Linked DNA regions of Homo sapiens: region 1 is linked to region 2. The links are contacts of gene promoters, found by promoter capture Hi-C in human tissues and cell types (Jung and others, 2019). All regions are on one chromosome and are shown on one strand. The core of a region is centred on a gene start or on the middle of the fragment in contact, and the rest is flanking DNA. Distances in the headings are between cores, read along the strand shown. Region 1 holds the start of ADSL (adenylosuccinate lyase). Region 2 holds the start of APOBEC3F (apolipoprotein B mRNA editing enzyme catalytic subunit 3F).

Region 1 (5,151 bases), core at 1,063-3,562, 1.3 Mb after region 2:
TGAAACCCCATCTCTACTAAAAAAAATACAGAAAATTAGCCGGGTGTGGTGGTGGGCGCCTGCAGTCCCAGCTACTAGGGAGGCTGAGGCAGGAGAATGGCGTGAACCCGGGACGGGGAGCTTGCAGTGAGCCGAGATCATGTCACTGAACTCCAGGCTGGGCGACAGAGCGAGACTCTGTCTCAAAAAAAAAAAAAAAAAAAAAAAAAAAAGAAGCCGGGAGGTCACTCAGCATCTAAGAAAGCCCAGAGGTGTGGAGGGAGAACACTGTCATGGGTGCTCCATAGGTTTTTGAGTGAATCTGTGAATGAAAGCAGGAATGGGAAGGTGACTGGAAAAGAAGTTATTGTCAAAGAAAAGATCTTGAAGCCTTGAGATCTAATCATGTACTTTTTTTTTTTTTTTCTTGAGTTGGAGTCACACTTTGTTGCCCAGGCTGGAGTGCAGTGGCACGATCTCGGCTCACTGCAACCTCCACCTCCTGGGTTCAAGTGATTCTCCTGCCTCAGCCTCCTAAGTAGCTGAGATTACAGACACCTGCCACCACGACCTGGCTAATTTTTGTATTTTGAGTAGAGATGGGGTTTCACCATGTTGGCCAGGCTGGTCTCCAACTCCTGACCTCAGGTGATCCACCTGCCTCAGCGTCCCAAAATGCTGGGATTACAGGTGTGAGCCACCGTGCCTGGCCCTTAATCATGTACTTGTAATAGTCTAGAAATATTATGGTTATTGGAAAAGTGAAGTTAACTCTCAGCAAATAAACTGGGAGTTAAAATTGGAATTCCTCCACAGGTCTCATTTTAGTAAGGCACTCAGAAACAAGTAATTTCAAAGCAGCATAGTACTGGGCTCAAGCGATCTTCCCGCCTCGGCCTCTCAAAGTGTTGGGATTACAGGCGTGAGCCACCACACCTGGCTTGAGTGTCTTTAGATTCCTCACGTAAAAGGCAGAGAGCTAGGAGTTAAGTGCAGGTGGAGAGGGTGCAGGCACCCGGCTCTTTTCGTTTGTTTTGTTTTTGAGACAGGGTCTCACTGTTGCCTAAGCTGTAGTGGCAAAATCATGGCTTACTGCAGCCTCAACATCCTGGGCTCAAGTGATTCTCCCACCTCAGCCTCCCAAGTAGCTGGGACTACAGGTGCACACCACCATACCCAGTTAATTTTTGTATTTTTTGTAGAGACAGTGTTTCATCATGTTGCTCAGGCTGGTCTCCAACTCCTGGACTCAAGCGATCTGCCCAGCTCAGCCTCCAAAGTGCTGAGATTATAGGCGTGAGTCACCGTGCCCAGCTGAGACACCTGGCTCTTACAGCTCCAGATGAACCCTTTCCTGTGTGATCACCCCACTGGCACTCCAGACTGAACAACATAGCAAGACCCTGTCAAAAAAAAAAAAAAGGGGGGGGGCCACTTGAGTGTTTCTATTTCTATTTATTTATTTAATTCTTTTATTTTTTGGAGACGGAGTCTCGCTCTGTCGCCCAGGCTGGAGTGCAGTGGCGCGATCTTGGCTCACTGCAACCTCCGCCTTCCGGGTTCAAGAAATTCTCCTGTCTCAGCCTCACAAGTAGCTGAGACTACAGGTACAGGCCGCCATGCCCGACTAATTTTTTGTATTTTAGTAGAGACAGGGTTTCACGTGTTGCCCAGGCTGGTCTCAAACTCCTAAGCTCAGGAAATCTGCCTGCCTCGACCTCCCGAAGTGCTGGGATTACAGGCGTAGGCCACCGCAGCCGGCTCACTGGGGGCGCAGTAAATGCCGATTTCCCTTGGGTATCTTCATTTCTCCTTAGAGCCGAGCTCGGTGCGCCGCGGGCAGGAGTGGGTGGGGCGACAGTAATAAGAGTAACAGCAAGCGTACACACGGCCTTCCAAGTGTGCCAGACACCGCTCTAACACTGAATCCGCACAACCCGAAAGGCAGGCCTTTTTTTTTTTTTTTTTTTTTGCTTTTTGTTTTTTAGAGACGGGAGGGTCTCCCTGTGTTGCCCAGGCTGGTCTCGATCTGTCGGCCTCAAGCGATCCTCCGGTCTGGGGCCCCCACAGTGCTGGGATTACAAGCGTGAGCCACCGCGCCCGGCCAAGGAAGTCTTAATGTACCTCTTTTCAGACAGGAAAACTAAAGTGTAGCGCGGCTAAGTAACGTAGGAAGCATCAATCATGTTTCTGGTCAAAGAAGCGAACCAAGTCAATTCTCAGGCAGAAGCAGCGGAGATTCTCCGCAGCCGGCAGCGCCCAGGGCGCCCGGAACCCAGAGAGCGAGACCGCGTGAAGGAAGTCCCGCCCCGCCCCGTCCTGCCCTGGCCTCCAGGTTTCCGCTTCCGCTCTTCCCTGGTCCAGTCCACCCTGGCGGGGTCGCAGGGTTGGGATGGCGGCTGGAGGCGATCATGGTTCGCCCGACAGCTACCGCTCACCTCTTGCCTCCCGCTATGCCAGCCCGGAGATGTGCTTCGTGTTTAGCGACAGGTATAAATTCCGGACATGGCGGCAGCTGTGGCTGTGGCTGGCGGAGGCCGAGCAGGTAACGGATCCCGGGCTGAGGGGCTGGGCCGGGAGGGACGGGCCCGCCCCAGCACGTGCCGGGCTCTGTTCCGGGCTGGGCTTAGCCACCCCGGAGCTGCGGCCCGGCTATTTTCAGCTGGGTGTTCCCTGTCCTGAGGAGCTGCGGCCCCAGGAAAGCAAGGGCAGGAGATCCGGGAGCCGCCACCTGTTGCCTCACGTGTTCTCAGTCCGAGAGGGTTCGAGACGCGGAGGAGGCTGGGAGAAATTCAGCCTGTAGTTTCAGGGAATTCATTTTGGCCATCCCCGCAGGAGTACGCTGCTAACCACAGACACCGAGCGCTTGTTTCGTACTGTTGTGCTCATTATTTCACTAATCTTTTCTTGTGTAATCCATGAAGATCTTGCAGGCTTGATGGTGTTTTTCCCACATTGCAGGGGAGAACAAAGCCCGGACAGCTTGTTGTTTGCCCTAGCCCATCCAGCTATTAAGAACGGAACTGGGATTTGAACCTGGGTGCACTCCAGAGCCTGAGCTGAGCACGTAGCCCCTTGGTTTTCCACAGTGCCTGTGTAGTTAGTGACAGGACTGGAATGCTTGTTTTCTAGGCCACCGTTTCTGCCTCACTGGCCTCCGCTTTGCCTCTTAGGAGAAGACTCCGGGTAGGGGTTTATTAAACGGGGTTTATAATTTCTTTTCTAAGGGCTGCATAGAGAACTTCTTAGCCCAGCGGTTTCAGAAATAGCTCCAGAAGAGTTGAAGCAAACTGAAGGTGATCCAGAGAGCGATAATGTTTCTCCTCAAGTTTCAGAGGAAAGTGCCACAACGAGCAAGTTGGCAATGCCCTCTCAAACGGCACAGTAAACATGGAAACAATTTGACTTCGGGCCTAGGACCTGTACCATGGAACTCTCCAAACAGGAAACTTTCATTCTAGATTCCCTCCCTCCCCTTATCACTGCCCTCCAAAATATTGGGCGATACACTACAATAATAGCAGACATTCAGATAGTGCCTTCTGAGACCCAGGTCTTAACCCTTTACACATGGTTGCTTATTAATCCTCCAAACAACCCTGAAGAGTAGGTATGAAATACTATGACTGTACCTGTTTTACAGATGGAAGAATGAAGCATCAACTTAATAAACTCTTGGCGTAGATAGCGATAGTAGTAGACCTTAATCATGTGTTGTGGTTTGTGATGTACTAGTGTGTACTCTTTCTATTTCATCTGATATTCTATTCTGTAGATGAGGGTAGTGGTACTCAAGACTTTGCCAGGGTCGCCAAAGCTAGTAAATGGCTTCAAGCTGGAATTGGAATGTAGAGTCTGAGTATGTGTTCTTTGTGTTGGCCTAAAATGCATACAATTTTGGCTTTGGATTATCTGTTAGGGTGTCAAAATTACCATAAATTGCATAATAACTTAGTAGCTAAGAAAAAACTTGGAGAATAAGAGATTAGGAGGAATGCAGAAAATTTGTAGTAAGGAAAGTATGAATTTTGAAAAGATAAATTGCTTGAGGGGAGGAAGCAGTATGGCCGTGCTGCCCTCTGCTGCTTTGCTTTGGAAGGAGCCCAGAGGTGTCATGTCTTCTGTGACTGTAAAGGTTCCAGGCAGTTCTGCCACATGTGGCTGCCGAGTACTTGAAATGCAGCTAGTGTGACTGAGAAACTGACTTTTTACTTTTATTTATATATTTAGGTTTTGAGACTGGGTCTGGCTCTGTCGCCTAGGCTGGAGTGCAGTGGCACAATCTTGGCTCGTTACAACCTCTGCATCCTGGGCTCAAGCTGTCCTCTCACCTCAGCCTCCCAAGCTGGAACTAGAGGTGCACGCCACCACGCCCGGCAAATTTTTGTGTTGTTTTGTAGAGATGGGTCTCACTGTGTTTTCCAGTGCGGTCTAGAACTTCTGGACTCAAGCGATCCACCGACCTTGGCCTCCCAAAGATGTGAGCCACCATACCTGGCCTGACTTTTTACTTATAAATATTTTCCAATACTTTTTAATTAATCAATTTAAATTTAAATAGCCATATCTGGCTAGTAGCTCCTTTCTTGGATAAAAAAGATCTAAGATGCAAGATCCTTCCCGGAGTCACTGTTTGCAAGTTTCAAGTGAGGTTTAAATCAGTTTCACCACTGTTTGTATTCAGCCCTTGGATCTAAGTTCCGAGCTGCCTGTGGGCTGCCAGCTATTTTTTGCAGCCTAATTTTTCCAGTGATGGATGAATGTAAGACATCAATGTGTTTATTTTCTCATCAATATCTCCTGGAATTGCTTTCAGTTGCACTCATTTGCTGTATATAATTTCCTGGCAAAACTACTTACAGAATTTCTAAATTTGGTTTCTGTAAATCCATCTAAGTAAAATGGCCACCATCATGCCAAGCACTAAGGATTAAGCAATAAATAAAACAAAGCTCCTCAAGAAGTATTCATTCTAGAGGGAAATGACAGGTTAATAAATATGTAAAAATGTCATGTGGTGATAAGTGCTGTAAATAAAACCAAGTGACACAGAGTGTGTTTTACATTGAAGTCAGGGAAGACCTCTTTGAGAAGATGACATTTGATTCCAGAGAGCAGAATGTGTGAGGGAGTGAACCAAGCAGAGGTCTCAGGCAGAAGGAACAGTCAAGA
Region 2 (5,450 bases), core at 2,518-5,017:
AGGCTACAGGTAAATTTAAACATTTTCTGGTTGACAATTGGTTGAGTTTGTCTAGAGACCTGGCATCCATAGAAAGGAAACGTTCAGGTTAAGATAAAAGATTGTGGAGATCAAGGTTCTTTTGAAGTCTCATAGTGGCTGCCCTTAGAGACAATAGATGACAAATGTTTCCCATTCAGGCCTTTAAAAGGTGCAATTAGTTCATCTGTTTAGGACCGGGAGGGCCTAGAAGAAAAAGATCCAGCTATGTTAATAGAGATTCTTTACAGATACAAATTTTGCCCCACAAAGGACAACTTTGCAGGGCCATTTCAAGATATGGCAAAGAAACATGTTTTGGGGTAAAATATTTTGTCTTTTTACTTTGTCACATAATGTTGTGCCTGAGTCAGATTGGAAAGTAACTCACAATATATAGGGTTAAATAAAACCCATGTGGGCCGGGCGCAGTGGCTCATGTCTGTAATCCCAGCACTTTGAGAGGCCTAGGTGGGTGGATCACCTGAGGTCAGCAGTTCAAGACCAGCCTGGCCAACATGGTGAAACCCTGTCTCTACTAAAAATACAAAAATTATCCAGGTGTGGTGGCGGGCACCTATAATCCCAGCTACTTGGGAGGCTGAGACAGGAGAATCGCTTGAACCCGGGAGGCGAAGGTTGCAGTGAGCCGAGACCACACCATTGCACTCCAGCCTGGGCAAGAAGAGTGAAACTCGGCCTCCATTAAAATACAATAGGAAAAAAAAAAAAAAAAATAGAACCCCTCTGATGAGGATGTACGGGTTGTAAGGCATGACTCCCCAGACCCCTTAGATAGGATTTTGGGCAAGATTAAATAAAAACAAATCAGAGCTTAGTCCAAAGGCCTATGAACTAAAAATAAAGTCTTTAGCCCCCACCGATCCCCCCCAACTTTGGCCCCCAGTGGCCAGGGGTATCTCAGAAAAACCTTAAAACTGAGTTCCCAGCCATGATGGGAGGGGAGGTCAGGCACGCCTCATTATCACCCCGCCCTTTTGCAGTTTAGACACAACTGACCAGCAGTAATGTTAAAACAGAATCATAAGATGGGCAGAACCAGAACAGACTCTTCATGGCAATCAGATACCAAATCACAACCAGGACCTCAGGCCGTGCCAGGCAAGGGTGAGATCACACACCCCACACTTAAACAGTCAACTCTGTTCTGCCTGCCCCAAGGTTTTTTTTTTTTTTTTTTTTTTGCTCTAGCAGCTAAACAAGCACTGCCTCCAGATAAAGATGAAAACAATCACAGCTCACCCAGCGCCCGGACGCGGAGCAACAGAGCCCCTGCTCCACAGCCCTAATTCCAGGTTTCCCTGGACAAGAGACTGATTTCAGTAACTTTCTCCAGATCGGAAGACCACGGACCACGGACTAGTTCTGAATGGTTTACAGACCTGGCAAATTTTGGTGCCTTCATGTCCTGAAAGGACCTTTTGACATACAGGCTTAATTGTGGTACATTTAAATGTTGTCTCCACCGCAATGTGAGGACGGATTATACGGTTGCTTTTTTTTTTTTTAGATTTTTGTTTGTTTGTTTTTTGTTTTGAGATGGAGTCTCACTCTGTCTCCCAGGCTGGAGGGCAGTGGCGCGATCTCGGCCCACTGCAACCTCTGCCTTCTGGGTTCAACTGATTCTCCTGCCTCAGCCTCCCGAGTAGCTGGGATTTCAGGCACGTGCCACCACACCCGGCTAATTTTTGTAGTTTTAGTAGAGACCAGGTCTCACCATGTTGGCCAGGTTGGTCTCGAACTCCTCACTGTCATGCGTGTCTGTATAGAAAACCACCTAAACAGGCTTTGTGTAAGCAATAACGCCATTTATTCACTTGGGTGCAAGTGGGCTGAGTCTGAAAAGAGAGTCAGCGAAGGGAGATAAGAGAGGGGCAGCTTTATAGGACTTGGGTAGGTGGTGGAAAGTTACAGTCGAAGGTGGTCATCTGTTGTCAGCAGGGGAGGGGGTCACCAGGTGCATGGTGGGAGACCATGAGACCCATTGTCCAGAAGAAGAATGTCATAAGGTCGATTGATCAGTTAGGGTAGGGCAGGAACAAGTCCTAATGGTGGAATGTCTTAAGGTTGGTTAATCAGTTAAGGGAGAAACTGGCTGTTTCACTTCTTTTGTGTTTTTTTGGCTGCTCCAGACTTCTTGGCTGCTGCAGGCCATCTGGATGTATATGTGCAGTTCACAGGGGTCACAATGGCTTAGCTCCGGCTCAGAGGCCTGACACTGACCTCAGATGATCCACCTGCCTCGGCCTCCCAAAATGCTGGGATTACAGGCGTGAGCCACTGTGCCTGCCTGGGATCATATGTTACACGCATGTTTGTTCAATAAGCATGGAGTGCAGCCACCCACATGAATATTCATAGCTCCTCCTATAGCCTGTTGAATATGTATGTTTAGCCAACCCCTTCAGCATAAAGCTCCTGCCCCAACCCCTCCTGCTTCTAAATGTCTGTCTCTGGTGTTTCCCAGAGGCTGCTCTTCCCAGGCTGCGGGATGGCTACCTTGCTGCCTGTCACCCTTAACAAGAAATAAAATCTCCTTTCCAAATTTATACATTGTGGCCAGGCGCGGTGGCTCACACCTGTAATCCCGGCACTTTGGTACGCCAAGGCGGGCGGATCTCCTCAGATCGGGAGTTCGAGATCAGCTGACCAACATGGAGAAACCCTGTCTCTACTAAAAATACAAAAATTAGCCAGGCATAGTGGTGGGCGGCTGTAAGCCTGACCAACATGGAGAAACACTGTCTCTACTAAGAATACAAAAATTAGCCTAGGCGTAGGGGTGGGTGCCTGTAATCGCAGTTACATGGGAGGCTGAGGCAGGAGAATCTTTTGAACCTGGGAGGCAAAGGTTGCGGTGAGCTGAGATTACGCCACTGTACTCCAGCCTGGGTAACAGAGCAAGTCTCCGTCTCAAAACAAACAAACAAACAAAAAAACACAAAAAAACAAAAGCAAACAAAAAAACCAAATGCATCCCTTGTGTAATTTTTAGGTCACCGCGCCATGGGAACACGCTACCAGGGGAAGGGAGCTGTGAGACGCGCAGGGAGGCTCCAGACAGGCTGGCCTGGGACACCAGCCACTGCTCTTCCATGACATGGGGACAAGAGGAGGCGAGAGCTCAGCCCACCAGGGAGGAACTCCGGGCAGGAGATGGGGAAGAAGGAGAAGCAGGAAGGAAAGAGCTCAGTGTGGGGGCGCGCATGGCATCCCGGTGGGACATCTGAGGCCCACACCCACCTGCTGTCCCTCCCTCCCACGGTGGCCTCCGAGGGTGAAGGCCTGGGGAGAGGCAGACACCTGGCCCTTTACTCTCCCTCCCTGTCCCCATGGCCGCTGGGTGGGGGCCGTCTCTGGGATGATCCCCGAGGGCAGGATCCGGGAGTCCCTGCGGAGGCATCAGCCTGTCTGTCTTGATGGTGGAGAGGAGGCTCCAGCTGGGCGGGACCACCAGGGGAGGGGCTTGTGCTCTGCTGGCTCAGCCTGGTGTGGACCCACCTCGCGGGCGCTGGCTGCAATGACTTTCTCTTTCCCTTTGCAATTGCCTTGGGTCCTGCCGCACAGAGCGGCCTGTCTTTATCAGAGGTCCCTCTGCCAGGGGGAGGGCCCCAGAGAAAACCAGAAAGAGGGTGAGAGACTGAGGAAGATAAAGCGTCCCAGGGCCTCCTACACCAGCGCCTGAGCAGGAAGGGGGAGGGGCCATGACTACGAGGCCCTGGGAGGTCACTTTAGGGAGGGCTGTCCTGAAACCTGGAGCCTGGAGCAGAAAGTGAAACCCTGGTGCTCCAGACAAAGATCTTAGTCGGGACTAGCCGGCCAAGGATGAAGCCTCACTTCAGGTACCGCTGCCCGCTCTACCCGCTGGGCCCCTCTGCTGCCCCTTCCTGCCTGGTGGCTCTGCTGGGCGTCAGCCCTGGCCTCCCCCTGCCCCAGCCCCAGCCCTGGGCTCCCTCCCCTCTGGCTCCCCTGCCCCCGCCACTCCCAGCCAGGCTCTTTTTCCTGCTCTGTGGTTGCCCCACTGCTGCTTCTGAATAGGCCGCTTCCCCACCTGCCCCAGCCCAGGTGCCCTGCTGAGACTCTCCCCCGCCACCGAAAGTCATGGCAGGGCTGGTGCTCCCGGCCCTGGGAGGGTGCTCCCTCTGTGTTCTTTCCGCCATTCCTGAACTCTGGAACTGGGAGAATTGAACCAAAGGATGATTAGAGCAATGTGGAATTTTGTTCACAGTGCTTTGATGGATTTTCTGTAACATTTACTTTGCTTAAATAGCAAGTCTTAGGAGAGGGTGTGGGGAGGGAATGGTCTCTGAAGCACAAGATAAATCGTATCTTCCAAGGATGTCTCCACTGTGGGCAGAGGAGGATGCAGATGACCCCAAACACACGCTCCTCCTCCACTATCAGCATTCACTGTTTATAAATGACACGAGTAACATGGAATATAGTGGCCGGGTGCGGTGGCTCACACCTGTCATCCCAGCACTTTGGTAGGCTGAGGTGGGTGGATTGCCTGAGGTCGGGAGTTCGAGACCATCCTGATCAACATGGATAAACCCTGTCTCTACTAAAAATACAAAATTAGCCGGGTGTGGTGGCGGGCGCCTATAATCCAGCTACTCCACAGGCTGAGACAGGAGAATCGCTTGAACCCAGGAGGCGGAGGTTGCAGTGAGCCGAGATCGCCCCATCGCACTCCAGCCTGGGCAACAAGAGCCAAATTTCGTCTCAAAAGAAAAAAAAACAAAAACAAAAAACATGGAATATATGGGAAAAAAACTCAATGATCAGGAGAAATGCTATTATTTTAAAATTTAGTAAGAAGAGAGTCTGGTCCCCAATGGCTCCCTCCTGCAAGGCTGGTGACACAGAGACTGGACAGGGCTGGTCTGGTAAGAGGCCCCAGCCCCATCCGTCCCCAGCTCTGTGGCCTGGGCAGGTTACCCCATCTCTCTGCGCCTCTGGCACCTCCTCTGTAAGATGGGAATGGCCCGTGCGGGCCTAGGGCAGCCTCACATGAGCTCACATCCGCGCAGCACTTAGAAGAGTGGCCTGGGCCTCAGAATTCGGTTCTACCATGATTTAACAATAGTAATATACAGAGGTGAAATGTCAGAAGGAACTGGCTGAAAGGTTAAAATCTATTATTTTGGGGTGAATAGTTTTATTCTCTCTCTCTTTTTTTTTTTTTTTTTTGAGATGGAGTTTCGCTCTTGTAGCCCAGGCTGGAGTGCAGTGGCACGATCTCGGCTCACTACAACCTCCGCCTCCCAGGTTCAAGCGATTCTCCTGCCTCAGCCTCCACAGTGGCTGGGATTACAGGCACCCACTACCACGCTTGGCTAATTTTTATATTTTTAGTAGAGACTGGGTTTCACCATGTTGGTGAGACTGGTCTCAAACTCCTGACCTCA

What was found. Contacts are between HindIII fragments. The study calls those that stand out against the background at their distance.
Region 1: a contact is called between the fragment with the promoter of ADSL here and the fragment with the promoter of APOBEC3F in region 2, in 1 of the 25 tissues and cell types used here (dorsolateral prefrontal cortex).

Annotation. Positions count from the first base shown.
Region 1 is chr22:40,344,188-40,349,338 of GRCh38, forward strand. ADSL (adenylosuccinate lyase) reads left to right here and starts at 2,313. Exons shown (of 13, transcript NM_000026.4): 1 at 2,313-2,524. The coding sequence starts at 2,372. RefSeq lists silencers at 13-185, 2,566-2,655 and enhancers at 1,828-2,341, 2,342-2,855, 2,856-3,368. The HindIII fragment of the contact is 18,864 bases long and covers 1-5,151 here.
Region 2 is chr22:39,037,097-39,042,546 of GRCh38, forward strand. APOBEC3F (apolipoprotein B mRNA editing enzyme catalytic subunit 3F) reads left to right here and starts at 3,768. Exons shown (of 7, transcript NM_145298.6): 1 at 3,768-3,881. The coding sequence starts at 3,865. RefSeq lists enhancers at 1-572, 3,578-3,637, 4,690-5,450. The HindIII fragment of the contact is 19,854 bases long and covers 1-5,450 here.